Regions from separate parts of the Homo sapiens genome. Here region 2 is linked to region 1. Evidence: promoter capture Hi-C in 16 types of primary human blood cells and fetal thymus (Javierre and others, 2016). All regions are on one chromosome and are shown on one strand. The core of a region is centred on a gene start or on the middle of the fragment in contact, and the rest is flanking DNA. Distances in the headings are between cores, read along the strand shown.

The links. The method cuts DNA at HindIII sites, captures the fragments that hold promoters and counts their contacts. A CHiCAGO score of 5 or more calls a contact.
Region 2: the fragment with the promoter of ECHDC1 here is called in contact with the fragment with the promoter of RPS12 in region 1 in 1 of 17 cell types (total CD4 T cells); the score reaches 5.8 in total CD4 T cells.

Annotation. Positions count from the first base shown.
Region 1 is chr6:132,813,003-132,816,535 of GRCh38, forward strand. RPS12 (ribosomal protein S12) reads left to right here and starts at 1,567. Exons shown (of 6, transcript NM_001016.4): 1 at 1,567-1,611; 2 at 1,730-1,780; 3 at 1,970-2,086; 4 at 3,459-3,533. The coding sequence starts at 1,767. SNORD101 (small nucleolar RNA, C/D box 101) reads left to right here and starts at 2,305; the gene lies at 2,305-2,377. It overlaps LOC107986644 (a long non-coding RNA gene), which reads right to left and starts at 1,286. Exons shown (of 3, transcript XR_001744345.3): 1 at 291-1,286. RefSeq lists enhancers at 33-102, 532-1,278, 1,193-1,472, 1,903-2,032. The HindIII fragment of the contact is 13,401 bases long and covers 1-3,533 here.
Region 2 is chr6:127,342,359-127,345,701 of GRCh38, forward strand. ECHDC1 (ethylmalonyl-CoA decarboxylase 1) reads right to left here and starts at 1,251. Exons shown (of 6, transcript NM_001002030.2): 1 at 978-1,251. RefSeq lists enhancers at 536-1,409, 2,284-3,157. The HindIII fragment of the contact is 1,394 bases long and covers 188-1,581 here.

The sequences.
Region 1 (3,533 bases), core at 317-2,816:
TAATCCCACCACAAACAAACCAGGGCTACAGGAATGAATCATCTTTATAAATTCCTCGTTTTTTTTTTTTTTTTAAATCAAAAGCTCAATAAACATTTGCATGAGTTACTGACAGAGAAGCAGCTTCAACGCTTTAAAAATGAAACTGAAACCAGCGGAAAATCTAAAACTGAACTCTATCAGTAAACTGAACTCTATCAGTTTATTAACATTACAGCAGGTCTCTGTTCTGGTGAACTCCCTGGTGCTCTTACTGCGTTACCCATTTTTGTTTTTTTCGCTGCACTCACCAGTCTAACAGTATCTGCCCACTGGATTCACAGCGCTGGCACGTGCCAAGCGCCTAATAATTGCTCACTGGTTTGGCGGCTGACTACCCAGGAGAGGAAATTAAACACAAAGGCAGTATTGATCATATTCAGTAGTGTTTCGTGCGTTTGGTTTGGAAGTGGGGATTGGGGAATGGCCAATCACTTCCAAATTTAAAATATTGCTTCCTGGAAGAAAATGGACTCCTCAAAGACTGGATATTTCATGTCTGTAGTCCCAGGACCTGGCCCTGCGTCAGGCACATTGTAGGTGTTGAAAATGCACCTGAGGAATTCTGAGTTGCGCGGAACTGTGTATTCCGAGCACAACGCGTCGTTAAAAACCAAACAAAGCAGAACAAACTTCGTTCAGAAGCGACTCCCGCTATACTTAGAAACTAGAATTGACCCCTGGCTGCAGGGTTCCGCTTTACCAACACACCGCAGGGAAAGGGCTTAGAAATAGTGAAAGCGGCCGGGGGCGGCGGGTCACGCCTCTAATCCCAGCATTTTGGGAGGCCGAGGCGGGTGGATCCCCTGAGGTCAGGAGTTCGAGACCAGCCTGGCCAACATGGTGAAATCCCGTCTTTACTAAAAATACAAAAAATTAGCCAGGGTGGTGGCAGGCGCCTGCAATCCCGGCTACTCGGGAGGCTGAGGCAGGAGAATCGCTTGAAACCGGGAGCCGGAGGTCGCAGTAAGCTGAGATCGCGCCATTGCACTCCAGCCTGGAAGAGTGAAAGCATGTAGGCTCTCGTTTCATGAAGACAAAGATGAGGATCACACCCACAACGACACAAACATGGTCTCTCAGGGTGACTTAGAAGCGAAGGAACAAAGTGCGCTGCCTGGGGAGGCTGGGTCTTGTAGAAGCAACAGGAAAGTAGAACGTGGTGTGGAAAGGGTTAAAACTGGCGCTCGGCGGGATACAGGGCTCTAGGTGCCTTAAAGAACACGCGGACACACTTGTTTGGCTTCTGTCGCGCTCCGTAGAATGAGTTCCCTGGGCCTCGGTGGGCCACGCCTCCGCAAAGAAGGACAACGCGAAGCTGCCCGCGTAGTGCCTGTTGCACTCGCCAAGGACCGGCCTGGCAGAGATAGAAAACTCGCAGTACGTTTGCCTCAGAACCGCCTCAATCCGGAAACAGAAACTCCCCAGGCCCGGCACTGCGGGAGCCACCTCTTTCGAGGGTGGGAGTGCACATGCGCACAGGGGACCTGAAAAACCCTTAAATACCGGCATGCGTGCGGATGAGGCCTCTTTCCCTGCCGCCGCCGAGTCGCGCGGAGGCGGAGGCTTGGGGTAAGTTGAGCGAGGCGGCAGGGGGGTGTATTGGTTATAATTTGTGGCTCGTTGCGTTCTTGCTGGGATTCGTGACGAGTATCTGGTTCTTTAACAAGTCAATGCTTTTGTTTTTTAGTGCGTTCAAGATTCAACTTCACCCGTAACCCACCGCCATGGCCGAGGAAGGGTGAGCCCAGGGGCCGGGGTTGGAGTTGGGGTCGGGGTGCGGCTGAGGCGTGGGGCTAGAGCTGGCGGAACAGGACTGGGTCAAACGGGTCGCCGTAAGCGCGTCTGTTGTACACTTAGCTTTTGCTGAGTGCAAGGCCTTATGTGGTGTGAGGATTTTAACTGATGGTTCTGATGTGTCGCGTTTAAGCATTGCTGCTGGAGGTGTAATGGACGTTAATACTGCTTTACAAGAGGTTCTGAAGACTGCCCTCATCCACGATGGCCTAGCACGTGGAATTCGCGAAGCTGCCAAAGCCTTAGACAAGTACGTGTATCAGTCTCAATACTGTGGGTTCTTGCAACCGGAACAAAACTGCCACCCAAGGGAAGAAGGCATGGAGTTCATGGTGTTAGCGCAAAAGTTCTGAATGGCATCCGTCCTACCGGAAACCTAGGAAAAGGTATCAGAACTCAGATCTATAAAGCCCACTTAAAATGTGTGGGTTGCTGTTTGGAATGGGGATAAGCACTCAAAACTACAGTGTTTGAATGATGACTTTAATTGTCGGATACCCCTTCACTCCTTTTATGAGTGAAACATAAGAGTCTGACAAACCTGTAGGTTGTGGAGCTAGTCAGTCTTATACTTATCTGGCAGATAGATGAGATGGAGAGCCACATTACATCTGGTAGTTTGCAAAACAAGCATTAATTTAATGGAATTTCAAACTCAGGTTTCAGAAGCATTTGGTCCTAGATGAATTTAGTAGTATAATAGCTGTGATTTATTTGAATTTGGGATATTTGTTAATGTATTTGAATGGATCGAGTTAATGTGTTTTTTAGGGTGGTGGCATTGACAAATCAACCTACTCTTGAGCTGAATTTAAATGCAGTTTTAAGGTTTTACAGGACAAGTTCGTTTTGGTGTAATCTAGCCAGTTCAATCCGATGGAAACGGCATTATTGTTTAATGTATTTAGTAGGTCCTAGTATGAGTCTTCTGTATTTCTATTTCGGCATTATTGCATGGCATTTCATAACTGTTCCATTAATGCCACAGTCTTTTTTTTTTCTTTTTTCTTTTTTTTTTTTGAGACAAAGAGTCTTGCTCTGTCCCCCAGGCTGGAGTGCAGTGGCGCGATCTCATTGCAACCTCTACCTACCAGGTTCAAGCGATTCTTCTGCCTCCCGAGTAGATGGAATTACAGGCACACGCCACCATGCCCAGCTAGTTTTTGTACTTTCAGTAGAAACGGGGTTTCGCCATGTTGGTCTCTGGCTGGTCTGGTACTCCTGACCTCGGGTCATCTGCCCCCCTCGTCTTCCCAAAGTGCTGGGATTACAGGAGTGAGCCATCGTGCCCGGCCTTTCACATGTTTCTTTAGGTATATGAAGCTGGCTTACAAGAAAGCTATTATGGTTGGGTTTTGGCCAGAAGTTTTAAAAATGACTTACACCAATTCAGTGTGTCAGGGACAGAGGTTTTACTGAAGACCAGTTGTAGGTTAATTGAAGATGTATATGCTCCCTAGCAGGTTCTTCAGACTCAAGCAATTTTGTACGCATTTATGTGTTCAGTGGATTGGCTGCTTATGTTTCGCAAGTGTTAGTGCAAAGATAACCCTCCTAAAATGCAAGAATGATGGATTTGGATCTGAGTTTTAGCTCCATTTTCATTGTAATTTGAATTTCAGGCGCCAAGCCCATCTTTGTGTGCTTGCATCCAACTGTGATGAGCCTATGTATGTCAAGTTGGTGGAGGCCCTTTG
Region 2 (3,343 bases), core at 1-2,500, 5.5 Mb before region 1:
GTTTCAATGCCATGCTTCTTCACAGGCTGGCTTCCCTTCCTGGAATGTTAATCATTGCAGGAATCCCAGCTGATTATACAGTCGCCTTTCAGGCCAGAACCCAATAAAAAATCAAGAAAGGATCGCCCGTTCTATTACTGCGCTGCTCCCTCCCCTCGTAGATTTCACAAATATACTTCTCACCACAAGCTTGTCTGTTCCAAGAGAATGCTAGCTCTTCTAAAGAAGGAGCCCTTTGTTTTCCTTGCCCTTGTCCAGTTCCTCTGCATACCTCTAGCACCTAGAGCAACAACTGCTATACAGGAGCCCAGATGTGGAACAGAGCAAAGAACTGAGTGTTGATTTAATGTTGCCTGAAGTCCTTAACAGCACCTTCAACCTAAACTTAACTGTGTTTTTAATCCCCTACACGTGTAATCCCTGTATGTGTGCGCAGCGTTAAAAGGATTATTGTAGCTCAAAAATTCTCCAATGAAAGAACCTCTACCAGAAAGGAGTTGCTCATCTTTCGTTCTTGAAAAGTTGGCTGCACGATACAAGTAAGAAAAGTTTTAGTTAGGCAAGACAACTTATACATAAAAGACAATTATAGGGAACATTACCTAACTTAGCACAGGGCCTCGAATGTATTCCGAAATTAAATCAGCATGTAGAAAGCAAGCCTCCTCATGCTTTTTAAAGTGTAATCTCGCGACCTCGCGGCGCGCTCTGGGAAGACCGATTCATCTCTTCCCCTCGCCCTCTTTCCCCGGCCGGCGCACAGCCGGCCCGTGGCGCTCGGCACCGCGTCTCCACGTCCAGCGCGGGGCAGGCCTGCGCGGCGCTTGCAAGGGACAAGCCGCGGAGCCGGGGAGGCTCGCCGTCTGGGACACGTTTGGAGAAGCGAGCGGTACAGTCCATTCCACGGCGACATTTTAGGATTCTCCCACTGACAACACTAAACTGAAGCGCTAAGACCAACCCTTACGACCACTTACCGTCGCAGGCCACGGTGGTGACTTCCTTTTCCGCTCCCCTACACACGCTTTTCCGTTTTGCGTGCCTTTGTTTCCGCTCCCCCCGGGACCATCGTGCGCCCCTGTCCTCCGTTCTTGTAGGTCCTCTCCTCTTCTCCGCGTCTTCTCTTTTACTATCCCACGCTCTCCTTTCCTTTCTCCGGGAACTTTATCCCGTTCCCCTGCCGGTTCCCGTGACCCCGGAAATCCCGCTCCTGCCGCGAGGCGCCCTCCGCTTCGCGCTCCCTCGTGTCACGAGGGAGCCAGGGTGGGCGGTCTCCTATTGTACTTGGCTTTTGAATTTTCGCTTTTGCAGCACAAAGGTAGGGCTGGGAAAGGAGGCTGCCGAACCGTGCTTGTTTTCGCTCAGATAAACGTGAGAAAAAGTGGAGGTGAGGAAGCCAGTGTAGGCAAATAGCGAGAGGGGAGAAGACAGAAAGGTACCGAAGGTCGACCTTTTTTAGGTATCTTATCCAAGTTATTGAGGGGAATGGGTATTTAGCCAGTTTTTTGTTTGTTTGTTTTTATCCGAATATCCAGTGTGTGTCTTGAATGTGTGAATGTGACGTGTTTATAAAGCTCAGTAAGCTTAAAATTCCGTGCCAATACATTTTGTATGCCGCAGACAGGAAGTGCTTTGGAAGACCCTTGAAAGGGGAGGTGATTTTACACCAATATTGAGATCATTTTGTCAGAGTCGTGGGACTAAAGGTAGACCTTAGGTAGTCGATGTCAAAGATAAGCGCAGCTGGACGTTAAAGCGGTGAAAACATTCAGTTAACTACTGACAGGAAAGAGCTGAGCTCTATTTCGATTCGTGCAGAGATCATCTGGGCATTTTTAAAGGGACGTTTTAAAAGGAGAAAGGGGATATGCGGGCGCTCAGTAGAGAAAGTGAACCTACAGAGTTGTTAGTGTAAATGTGATTAGGCCAGCTGTGTGTTTGTGTGTGCGCGCGTTTTAACAGTTACCGCAGGATTCTATCCTCCTACGGAGGATTTTATCCTTCTCGATTACATTTCAAAGGAATGACTCTCTGGTCCTTGAGAGAGAACTTCTGAGTGGCAAGAAATAAGTCTTTACAATTGCAAGCCCTTTAGTAAACGTTCTAAGAAAGGGATGTCAGAGACCTATCATCAGTTGTGTGCTGGTTACATCACGTAGTTAAGCTTTCTGAGGCAGTCGCCCTGGGCACAGGGCCTTATGCTGCTAAAGCTTGCTAGAGTTTGGTCAAGTCTCTGAACGCAGGGGTTTAGATGGGATGGTCATGTTCCTGGAGTTCTGCAGTGGTCATAGGTATGATTTGAATAAGTACAGGGAATATTCTAGTCGGAGGAACAGAATGTGCCAACGCGCCGAACAGGGAGGATAGTTTTACGATACGGAGATGTGTATGATAGGGAATAAGTGGGAGCCCAGTTTGGACTAATTGGAAGAAGTCATTATTAGAAGTACTGTATTTAATTCTAGTTTGTTATAAAATGAGACTCCAAGATCACTGAGCCATTTCACTGAGACTCCAAGATCACCCCAATGCTAGGCTAATCTCCATGGCGCCTAGATCTATGCCCACTCCATTCCCCATGTTGGTCCCCATAGTTTCAGGCACCAGGCTCCAACACCAGGTTGGGCCCTACAGCCCCAGTCTCCAGGTTGGCACCAGTGGATATAGGCTTTAGGTCCACTGACTGCTGGTCCCTACAGCCCCAGGTTCCAGTGAACCCAGGTTCCAGGCCTGCTCCAACAAACCCAAGGTCCAGGTCTACCCCAGTAGACCCTGGCACCAGAACTACCCCAGAGGGCCTAGCCTACAGGCTACCACCCACAAACCCAGCCTCCATGATGGCCTCTGAAGAATCAGGCTTTAGGTCTTCCCCAGCACCAGACTAGACTGCTAGACTGATGTTCCACTTTTGTCCCCATGGACCCAGGCACCAGGCCCATCTGAGAGGTTTCTTCAGTTTTATTTTTCAGTAATAACTTTCATTCTTCTTTCTCAGTGATAACTGTAGTACTCAGTGGGCTTTCTATTTCTGGCTCCCATTTTCCATCTTTCTTTTTAACACTTTGGGAAAATATCCAAGTTAAACTCTATATAGTGGGGTAGGTGGACAATGAAAGATAAGTAAATACATAATATGTATAATCAACGGAGTGAAAAGACAGCCTGCAGAATGGGAGAAAATATTTGCAAACTATATATCTGACAAAGGGTTAATATCCAGAGTATATGAAGAAGTCAACTCAATAGCCAAAAAAAAAAAAAAAAAAATCCAATTTAAAAATGAGCAAAAGGCCTGAATGGACATTTCTCAAAAGAAAACATGATGATGACTAACAAATATATG